Regions from separate parts of the Homo sapiens genome. Here all the other regions are linked to region 1. The links are contacts of gene promoters, found by promoter capture Hi-C in human tissues and cell types (Jung and others, 2019). All regions are on one chromosome and are shown on one strand. The core of a region is centred on a gene start or on the middle of the fragment in contact, and the rest is flanking DNA. Distances in the headings are between cores, read along the strand shown.

What was found. Contacts are between HindIII fragments. The study calls those that stand out against the background at their distance.
Region 2: a fragment that was not itself captured here is called in contact with the fragment with the promoter of DIS3 in region 1 in 1 of the 25 tissues and cell types used here (lymphoblastoid cells).
Region 3: a fragment that was not itself captured here is called in contact with the fragment with the promoter of DIS3 in region 1 in 1 of the 25 tissues and cell types used here (lymphoblastoid cells).

What each region holds. Positions count from the first base shown.
Region 1 is chr13:72,779,837-72,783,559 of GRCh38, reverse strand. It overlaps DIS3 (DIS3 exosome endoribonuclease and 3''-5'' exoribonuclease), which reads left to right and starts at 1,660. Exons shown (of 21, transcript NM_014953.5): 1 at 1,660-1,955; 2 at 2,557-2,714. The coding sequence starts at 1,728. PIBF1 (progesterone immunomodulatory binding factor 1) reads right to left here and starts at 1,427. Exons shown (of 18, transcript NM_006346.4): 1 at 1,211-1,427; 2 at 1-137. The coding sequence starts at 90. RefSeq lists enhancers at 1,527-1,636, 1,554-2,468 and a silencer at 1,917-1,966. The HindIII fragment of the contact is 9,401 bases long and covers 1-3,723 here.
Region 2 is chr13:73,864,053-73,868,010 of GRCh38, reverse strand. The region is part of intron 3 of KLF12 (KLF transcription factor 12); the gene reads left to right. Among named protein-coding and RNA genes, the nearest start is that of LINC00393, 200 kb to the right of the region's middle. The HindIII fragment of the contact is 7,129 bases long and covers 1-3,958 here.
Region 3 is chr13:73,913,323-73,916,909 of GRCh38, reverse strand. All of the region lies in intron 3 of KLF12 (KLF transcription factor 12), which reads left to right. Among named protein-coding and RNA genes, the nearest start is that of KLF12, 220 kb to the left of the region's middle. The HindIII fragment of the contact is 4,104 bases long and covers 1-3,587 here.

The sequences.
Region 1 (3,723 bases), core at 411-2,910:
AGGAACTGTTGTTTCTAAACTAATATCTTCAGATTCCAGAGAACTAGAGATGTTCACTTTTTTTGACTCCTTTGAAATTTTTCGAGACATTTTTATTATTATGGATCAGTTTTCTTCTCTAATTTGATTTTAATATTCTGTAGGTTAAAAAACATTAATTCAAATGTACTATAAAATTAACTACAGAAATCATGGACTGTATTAAAGAGAGACTAAGGATTCCTTAAATAAATATTAGGCAATTTAGTGCATCCCAAATCTAGAACAGATTATTGCAGTTAAGTTAATGCTCAAATCAAACACATTAATTCCTAATATGAAGTCAGCCTTCGAGAAACTTAAAAAAACAGTTCCTGCGGGGAGGAATCTTACTTGGAGGAAACAAAGAAATGTACAAGATGAAGAAAAAAGCCCATTATAATCAAGAATGGCACCACTAAAACCAACACATGCTCAAAGATAACAGAAATCACGTCTGAGTTGGTCAGGGAAACGTTACACAGAGGTAGCACTTAGAATCTTTAAAGATTTGGACAGGCATGGTAAAAAGGAGAAATCATGCAGTTATTAATGATACGTAAGTGGAAGTAAAAAAACAAAGCCAAGTCTTGGAATAGTTACTCCTTTCACCGCCCCCCCAACACAAACACAAACACACACACACACACACACACACACACACACGCCCTTAACGATCAAGACTGGAAGGCCTTAAATGTCAAAATAGGGTTGGATTTTATTCTACAGGCAATGAGGCATCATTGAAGATGTTTTAAATAGGGAAAACGGGGACAAAAACATTTTTTATAGATAGCAGAATGAAAACAACAGGATATAAGAAAAATTCAAGAAATTCTAAATAGAACTTACTTCTAACTCTCTCATAAGAATGTTAGCAACTACCTTGTTTTAATACCTCATGATATAACAAATTATGCTATTAAATATTTCAGTTTTTCTAAACTGAATGATAAGGAAAGGTGTGTGGAGGGGAAACAGCGAGAACTATACTAAGATCGGCCTCCCTCCTTCTTTTTGAAGGGAAATAGGTAAGAAAAAGTGAATTCAAAGACAAATTCTCTCCTCGATTACAAAGGGCCCGAGACGGGGACTGCCTATACACTCGGCGTGAAAATTAAGCCCCAAACTTGGCAGCTCGGGGGATTCCTTGCCCCACGCGGGAAAGAAAGCGATGATAGTCGCAAGTTACCTCGAAAGTGTCAATTACTCCACACTGAAGCCTTGACCAGCAGCCAGTGCAGACACCGAGGGACCAAAGGCGTCTCCGGTCGGAAGCACAAGGTTGCAGGCCCTCAACAAGGGATTTCAAGGCAGGGGACCGTTAGGACCCGTAACCAAGACAACCATCTCCGCACCCGCAAGGAGGACAGAACCAGCACTCCCACAAGCCGCCGGAAGTCAACTCTCCCGGATGTTCCGAGGAGCGGAAAGCAACACACGTTGTGAGGTGGCGTCCAGAAGGAAGCCCCGCCTAGGCCACGGGCGGAAATGGCTCCTCGCCTTGCTTTGCCGCCCCTCCCCACTCTCGCCCAATCCCCGCGGCCGTCAGAGAGCCAACCAATGTTTATCTCGGCATTTTCCCGCGAGAAGTGTTACTAATATCCGGGAATGGAAAGGGAAGAACCTCCGGGGTTAGGCGTATTCTAGATTGACGCCTTTTGCTGGAAGAGCGCTGCTGGGGTTAGGATTCTGCGCGGCGAGGCAAGATGCTCAAGTCCAAGACGTTCTTAAAAAAGACCCGGGCGGGCGGCGTGATGAAGATCGTGCGCGAGCACTACCTGCGAGACGACATCGGCTGCGGTGCGCCCGGGTGCGCAGCGTGTGGAGGGGCGCACGAGGGGCCGGCCCTGGAGCCGCAGCCCCAGGACCCGGCGAGCAGCGTCTGCCCGCAACCGCACTACTTGCTGCCCGACACTAATGTGTTACTGCACCAGGTGCGTGGGCGGGCGAACCGCGGACAGCGCGGCCCCACGGGGACAAGGGGGTATGACAGGGAAACTGAGGCCCAGGGAGGCGGGTCTTTGGCAGTGTCACATACCTAGCGAAAGGGAAACCCCCTCGGGACCGAAGCTTCCTGTTCCCCAGGCCGAGGTTCTTTTCCTTGTGCTTTAAAAAATTTAGTTCTTGGAGTCGTAGTTCAGACACGTTATTTTTCTAACTCCTGGTGTCTCTTCTGCCTTAGATTGTAAGTGCCTGGAGGCCGGGGACCTGGGCTTCTGTGGCCTCCAGCCTGCGACTCCCAGGCAGCTTGTAAGTGCCTAGGAACAAAAAACTATGTGGGCCAACGTATTCCTTTATTAATACCCTTAATTCTACGAAGTCTTGTGATTGGTCTGTTTAAGTGTGCTTTTTTTAATAGATCTGAAGGGTTTAGTGACTATTGTCTCGTTTTCTATAGCCAAATAGCTTCTTGGCTTAACTTATTCAGTGTTTTTAAAACATAAAGTATTTATGCCCAACATAAAACAGGATTTTATGTTTGACAGAGCTATTTACAAATGAATATAGGAAAAATTAACTTTATCTTTCTTTAAGATTGATGTTCTTGAGGACCCTGCCATCAGGAATGTAATTGTGCTACAAACAGTTCTTCAAGAAGTGAGAAATCGCAGTGCCCCCGTATATAAACGCATCCGAGATGTGACTAATAACCAAGAGAAGCATTTCTATACTTTCACTAATGAGCACCATAGGTAGGAGGAATATTACGTTAAATATCAGAAAACCACAGGATTAGCAAAATTCGGGAGAGGGTTCCTGTGAGTAATTTATGACATTGTCAGAAGATAAGTGATAGATTTCATACCTTATTTAATTCTTACATGGCTGTGCAGAAGATAATGCTAAGTGGATCTCTCTAAGGTCACACAGGCATTGATGGGCTCAAGCCTAAAACCAAGGTCTGCTGACTCCTAGACTACAATAGGTACTTTAATTTCCAAAATGTTTTCATTTTGAATTGGTTTTAGCATGAGTTGGACCATAGAATCTTGGAAGATGAGATTTGCTTAAGTTCCTGGAATACCATATTATGTGAACAACTAACAGAGGGTAATAAAATATATGAGTTTGTGAAGTTTCTATTTTGTTTAAAAATAGAAAGTAGATTTATTCTTAATGGTCTTTTTAAAAGTTTAATACTTTGCAGCTGATTACATTGAGCAAGATTAGGTTAAGGAATAGAATTCTTTTTTTTTTTTTTTTTTTTTTTTTGAGATGGAGTCTCACTCTGTCACCCAGGCTGGAGTGCAGTGGTGTGATCTCTGCTCACTGCAACCTCCACCTCCCAAGTTCAAGCGATTCTTCTGCCTCAGCCTCCTGAGTAGCTGGGATTACAGTCACGCACCACTATGCCAGGCTAATTTTTGTATTTTTAGTAGAGACAGGGTTTCACCATGTTGGTCAGGCTGGTCTCGAATTCCTGACCTCGTGATCCACCTGCCTCAGCCTCTCAAAGTGGTGGGATTACAGGCATGAGCTACCGTGCCTGGCCAGGAATATAATTCTTTGTTGTGCTTTTAGATTCAAGACCTTTGAACTCAGTGTGTGGTCTCAAAAATATGATATTGCCTATTACGTTATATTACATAAATAATCTATGATGAGTATGGTACTTTTATTGGATTAGATCAGGGCTTCTCAATCTTGGCATTATAGATATTTTGAACTGAATAATTTTTTTGTGGTGGAAAGGCTGTTTTA
Region 2 (3,958 bases), core at 1,428-3,927, 1.1 Mb before region 1:
TCTTGTTTGTTGCCCAGGCTGGAGTGCAATAGCACAATCTTGGCTCACTGCAACCTCTGCCTCCCAGGTTCAAGCGATTCTCCTGCCTCAACCTCTCAAGTAGCTGGGATTACAGGCACCCGCCACCATGCCCGACTAATTTTTCTATTTTTAGTAGAGACAGGGTTGGATCGCCTGAGGTCAGGAATTCAAGACCAGCCTGACCAACATGGTGAAATTCCATGTTACTAGAGGGCGTGCTGAATGATTGTATCCCTTTAGATTTGTTAAGACTTGCTTTGTAGCCCACTGTGGGGTCGCATTGTGGTAAATAGTTCATAAGTACTTGAAAAACACTGTGTATTGGATAGATATCAGGTACGTTGTTCTAAATAAGTAAGATAAGTTTGTTAATTTTTTTTTCCCCCTGTCTTCTATAGCCCTGCTAACTTTTTCTCTTTGTCTATCTGTTACTGAGTGAGTTATGCTAAAATCTCACACTATATTTGTAGGCTTGTCTATTACTCATTTTAGTTCTTTATGCCTTTGCTTTTTAAGACTATTTTTATAAATTGACATATATATGTCATATGTATGTGTGTATATATATATATATACACACACACGTATATATGTATGTATGTATGTATATATTCCTGTTGGAGTGGTTCTTTTGTCAGTAAACTGTCCTTTTTAGTTTCTAGTAATTATTCTAGCTTACCATCTTTTTTCCCTAGTATGACTATAACTGTACCAACCTTCTTTTGCTTTGTATTTGCCTAGTGTTTTTTTCATTCATTTACTTTCAACTTTTATTTTCTTATATTTAAGAGTTACTACATTTAAGTTTTTCTTAAAAATCGAAGCTATAATTTTAAAACCATAAAAACTAGACTACTTAATTGCAGAATGTAGTACTGTACATTATACCATCACACTGTATGCTTTTTATTCCCTTTTTCCTGATATTTTAAAATTTCCTTTCCCTACCTTCTCTTTAGTGTAAATATTATTTTCAGTGGTTTATCCTATAAATTACATTGCCCCTGTGGCATTTTCATGCTCACCATAGTTTAATCCTTTTACTTAATTTCTAGACAATGCAGAGATCTTGGGACATTTTAACTCTATAAATTCCCCCCCCCCTTTTTGCCCCACATTTTAAACCTCAAAATATAATTATTGTTAAGACAGTATATTATTAGCCTAGCAAGATGTCTTCATTACTCAGTTAGATTTATGTACATATTTACCTTTTCCTTTGCTCTTTTTTCTTTCTTGTATTTCCATATTTCTATATTAGGGATGATTTTCCTTGGGCCTGAAGAAATTTTTTAGTACTTCTTTTTACATGGTCTGTTAGCCATGAATGCTCTGTTTTTATTTAAAATGTTTGTATTTTGTCTTCATTTTTGATAGAAAAGTATCAAAGTTGTCAATTGTTTTATTTTTTTTTATTTCAGAATGTAAACCTATCCTGTTGTCTTCTGGTTCTGTCATTTTGTTGAGAAGTAACTCTTCAAATAGTTACTCTTTGGGAGGTCATCTTTTCACTGACTACTTTTGAGTAGTTTCTTTTGAATTTATATTGCTTGGGATTTACAGATTCTTGAATTGTACAGCAAAATGTCTTTCAGAAAATATCTGGCCAGTATTTTCAATGTTGCTGTGCCCTGTTTCCCTATTCTTTCTCTCCACTCCTCTGGGCCTCCAATTACACACATGTAATACCTTTCCTGTGTGTCTTGTGTGTTTTTGTTTTGTTTTCTTTTGTTTTTTGAGGCAGTCTTGCTCTGTCGCCCAGGCTGGAGTGCAGTGGCGTGATCTCAGCTCACTGCAACCTCTGCCTTCCAGGTTCAAGAGATTCTCACACCTCAGCCTCCCGAGTAGCTGGATTACAGGCGCCCACCACCATTCCCGGCTAATTTTTGTATTTTTAGTAGTGATGGAGTTTCGCCCTGTTGGCCAGGCTGGTCTCAAACTCCTGGCCTCAAGGGATCCACCCACCTCCGCCTCCCAAAGTTTTGGGATTATAGGCGTGAGCCACTGTGTTGGGCCTGTTTTATGCTTTTTAAAGTATCTTACTACTCCCACTTGAACTACGTTCTCATTTTTGCTCATTCATTTTTCAGTTCATTAATCATTTCTATGTCCTTCTGCTGTCAAACACAAGTGTCAGGTTTTCAATTCAAATACTGTATTTTTCGCTTTTGGAATCTATATTTGACTAGGTTTTTGTTTGGTTTTGTAGACTGCAGTTTTGGAGTACAATTTTCTTATCTGTTAAGCATTTTATGATTGTTATTTTAAAGTACATGTTGGATAACTCTAAAAATTTTTAATTTGTTCTTATTTTTCTTATCTATTTCTCTCCTTTTAGTTTGTTCTTATCTATTCCTCTACTTTTAGTTTTAAGTAATTTGGGATAGTATTCTGAAATATTTTGTAATTTAAGTGAATAGCAGACGTTGTGATTATGCCTCAAGGAAAAAATGATATACATTGATAGTTCCTTTTCTTGTGTTTCTTTCCTTCTTGGATCTTGGACCTTAAAGTTCTGATTGTTTTAGTTGCTCTCCAGTGTCTTAAAATGCACTTTTACAAATTTAATCTAGTTTTGTTACTGTTTCTAATATGAGAGTTGATTTAATACAAACTACTCTGCCTTGGCTGAAATGAAATTTGGGCTTTTCTTTTTCCACATTTTACGTGCTATAAATTGTCCAGATTATTTTGCATGTCATCACTTTGGGTCCCTTTCATAAAGCTCCTCATGAAAAAGATTTGCAGTTTAATGTGGTTTTTGAAACAATGGTAAGAAATGTATACAGCTCACTACTGAGATAATGTGATTATAGAGCTACTCATGTTATTTCTTTTTATCCTAACAGAAAGCACAAAGTTATGTCTGGAATTTAGGCAATCAAGTTGACCTTAACATTTGACTTATTATAGACTCCTTTTTTGTTTAGTGGAAGGGGCCTTGATTTTTTATTTGTTGTTTTTATTATATAACTGTATATGTCTTTCATCATATATTTTCTGTCAGACTTCCTTATACCTGTACTTGGACAATTGAAGCTTTTAAACCTGTTTACTTGTTATTTACTCCTTAATTTTATATTGGATTGAAAACTATTACTCTAACCTTATTCAGACTTGACAACATTAAGTCCTCTTCAAAATTCTTATTTTTATGGTCTTTTATGTACCACTTTTATCGCATATATATTCCTTCATTCTACTGTGATCTTCTCATGTCAGTGATTAATGAAAATTTAGCACTTCCTGAATGATGAATTTTGTGTTGATTGATGTTTCTGTTGAACAGAACTTTCAGCACATTTTACCCAGGCAGTTAGACTAACTTTTGAACTCCTTTGTAATTTAAAATCTTTTGGATTGAATATTTTGGATTTATAGTCAATAATATTTTCCTTACTCTGATCAGTGAATGATATAAACGCTTTCCTTCAGTCTTTTATAAATATGCATCAGATTTTTTTCTACCTCATACTGGGGACTATTTACAATCTGATATAATTGTTGTGTATCTGTGGGAAGATAATAGATATAGACCAGTGTTTTTTCCCTAGAGAACTCAGCTCCATTTCCAATCATATTGCTTATGTTCTGCTTCATCTACTGATCAGCACTGAGGAATTTAATAGTTTGTTAAATCCTTAAATCTAATAATTTAATCCCACTCACTGGTAAAGTACAACTATGAGAGAAATTAATTCCTAATTGAAACCAAGTATAAAATGGGTAATGCTATCTGTATGTCACTTTATACAAATCAGGATATCTGCCATACCCTTTTAAAAATTAGGGAGTAATTACTTAAACTTGAATTGCTATTTAGAATTCCATTTACTACAAATTATTCAGGGATATTTTATGTAAACCAAGAGGAATTTTTAACTCCCCAGTTATCTTACCCTATAATGTTATGACATGTAGTATATTATTAATGGAA
Region 3 (3,587 bases), core at 343-2,842, 1.1 Mb before region 1:
ATGAAGTTAACAAATAAGGACAATTATATAACTACAGGAGCTCAAAGTCAGTCCTTGCACTTACAGTGTAGAAGATGCAGACATCCCAATTCCTCATCTCCCATTTCTTTGTTAAATATTAATATATTAATTTATGTGACTACAGTCTGTCACTAAAGCTTCTACCTTCTCACTCCATACATCAAACCTAAATGATCATACTTAAGCCCTCACTGCAAAGTAACTTACAGACTCTGGCTAATTCATCATAACATTTCTCAGATGGTTCTTACTTAAATATTATGATTGCTGTTTTACAGGCAGAGAATAGGAGGCAAAGACATTGACAGTGTTTATTTATATTGGCTATATAAAGCATTGTACCAAAAGTGCTACATTCAACATAATGACATTAATTTCATTCAGTTTTTTACTTTTGAGGATTCTGGGGTGTTGTGGGGTAGATACTTGCAGAAGAAATAACCTCGTGGCTCCTCTGCTATAGTGAGGCAGAGATATTTACTAGATGTTTGATAGCTCTGGTTCTTGTGCTCTATCCCAGTTCTGGAATTCAATAAAGCTGTATCTTTTAATTAATTGTTATTTCTATGAATAACTATTCAAAGTGTCAGCGATTATGTAAAATTATTAACACTTTAAAGCTGTGTGTGTGTGTGTGTGTGCGTGTGCGTGTGTGTGTGTGTGTGTGTGTGTGTGTGTGTAAGTATTAGCTCTTCCCCAAGTTGGAGTACTGTTTATTTGCCTGTTTCATACAGGATTTATGCTTTTTAATTATGAAAGCCAAATTATTCCAATCCTCTAAAAATCTATGCAAGATCAATAAGAACAGAACAGATAAAATCATAAAACTCCATGTTTTTGGCATGAGAGGAAGACAGAGAACACTACAAATTTTAAACTCTCCATAAGTAGAAAGGTAAACACTAACTTCTGGAAAAGAGATTTCTCAAGTTTCCTTCTCAAGTCTTTGTGGAGAGCTGAGTTTTTAGAAAAATTGCATGGAAAAGAGAAGATGTAATTGAGCTGAAATCCACCATCAAGAGAGAAAGTCAATCCTAAATTCAAAAATACTGAAAAAGGCCAGGCGCCGTGGCTCACGCCTGTAATCCCAGCACTTTAGGAGGCCAAGACGGGTGGATCACGAGGTCAGGAGATCAAGACCATCCTGGCTAACACGGCGAAACCTAGTCTCTACTAAAAAAAAAAAAAAAAAAAAAAAATACAAAAAAATTAGCTGGGCGTGGTGGCAGGTGCCTGTAGTCCCAGCTACTTGGGAGGCTGAGGCAGGAGAATGGCATGAACCTGGGAGGTGGAGCTTGCAGTGAGCCAAGATCGTGCCACTGCACTCCAGCCTGGGCGACAGAGCGAGACTCCATCTCAAAAAAAAAAAGAAACAAAACTGAAAAAGAAGCCTGGGTATATCAGAGCAGCGACTGCAGGGAAAGGGTGTAACGTCTTGTGTGTGGGGCTCAGGCAGGCAGGCAGGCAATCTTGGAAAGGCAACACTTCTACGGAAATGAGGCTGTGGGAGGCTGAATAGTGACCTCTAAAGATATCCATGTCCTAATCTCTGGAACCTGTGCATGTCACCTTATCATCCGCAAAAGAAATTTTTCAGATGCAATTATGTTGAGGATTTTGAGATAGAGAAATTATCCTGAATTATCTGGGCGGGCCCTAAGTGAAATCCCAAGGGCCTTTGTAAGAGGGAAGCAGGAAAAGATTTGGCTACAGAAGAGAAGACAGTGTGAGGATGGAACAGAAATTGGAGTGACGCAGACAGGAGCCAGGGAATACCAGCAGCCACTGGAAGCTGGGAGAGGCTAAGAATGGATTTTCACCTGGATCCTACAGAGAGAGCCAGCCCTGCAGATGCCTCCCTGCTAGCCCCAGAAGACTTATTTTGGACTTCAGGCTTCCAGAATTAAAATAGGATAAGTTTCTGTTGTTTTAAGCCATTCCATTTGTGGTAATTTGTTATATAAGCATTAGGAAACTAATACAGAATGTAAAATGGAAAACTTACTTTTGGGAATTCTTCAATGAAAGCAAAAACGAGCAAGAGGGGAAATGTAGGATCCCAAAAGGAAAAAAAAAGATGAAAACATAAATGGAAAACACATAGTTCCCCTGCCCATCACCCCCCACCCAGACCATTTACTAAAGAAACTATATTTTTGCTAACGTAACAGATGAGAGCTCTCTTGAAGGAAGAGACTGTGCTAGAATAGCCCCGTGTGCTGTCTCTTGCATTTTTTCCTGTTGAAGAATGATTGTGGGGAAGAAGGTCCTTCACAGAGGCGTTCTCCAACCTTGTTTAAATTTGCTTCACCCGTGCAACTCATACTGATTATCAAAAGCCAGCCAGAGAATTTGTTTTTTTCTGTAACTTTATAGATGTTTGTTTCTTAATGAAAAAAAAGTTATTTGGCTCTCTCCACATCTATTTGAGTGCCTGCTATGTGTACTATTCTCAGAACAGTCAAGGTAGGAGTTAGTGAAAATGCCTCACTTTGGTGAAATTCTTGGGGCTTTAATAAGCACAACCACCCCCTGCTGATGAACGCCTGCAGCAAGCCTAGGGTCCCAGGGGACGAGTGGGTTGGTCTTCTCATGTCTGCCCAGACTCACAGCAGAGTGAGCCACATAGGGAGAGTGGGTCTCTCAGAGGTGGTAAACCCGGGTGCCAGAGAAGGACCTGGAAAAGGAAATTCAAGGGATCAGGAGCAGATATCAGAAATAAGTCAGAAAATAGGGTTTAAGGTAGGTCAGAGCAAAGTGGTTTGGGGTATAGGATGGAAGGCAAAGGTGCCAGGGAACATTTATTGATGTTGGCAGGAATAAGCCAGTCAGCTTAAAGACTCAGAGCTGGGCTGGCCAGCGACCAGCAAAGATTAAAAATAAATTTGTTTAATTCATGGATATGCAGTATAAATGATTTCTTATAAAACAGTTGACTCTGCTCCTCCTTTTTAAAAAAAACTTTTCTTTTAATAGAAAAATGTTTATAAAGCTGTTCCAGATGCAATTATAATATGTTTGTATCACCATGTTTAGAAATTTGGCCCATGCTACTTGTACAGTTTTAAAAGTGTTATACTTCAAATAATAAAAGCTGAAATAAAAATATAATGAAGGTGATATTAATTTATATTTAAAAAGTGCTTTCTAAAAATAAAAATCTTTTTATTTTAAAGGTATTAAAAGGTTTCTGTCTTTTTGCCAAGTTTAAATTTGTTACTTTGGTCATTGCCAACATGAAAGCTTTATTTTATTTATTAGCCCATCCAGTCCAGTTCTCCCTTTCTCACTATGTGAGAGGAGCAGTATACTCTGTGAGTAACAGAGGACTGAGGAGTCTCTTGGTCATTGTATTGGTAGGAAGGAAAGAGTTTTCTTATTCATGCTTAGATCCACTAAATGCTTCTCCTTCTGGCCTTGTCACACACCATCAAGCTGAATGAAATGTGCACTGTGATTTACAGTTGATGGTTAAAATTATGGCAAACCCGAGGACTAGCCCTCGTTCCTGTAGCTGGACTGTGGCTCCCAAGTGCTGCATCAGCTGGTTTTTGCTAGATTTACAT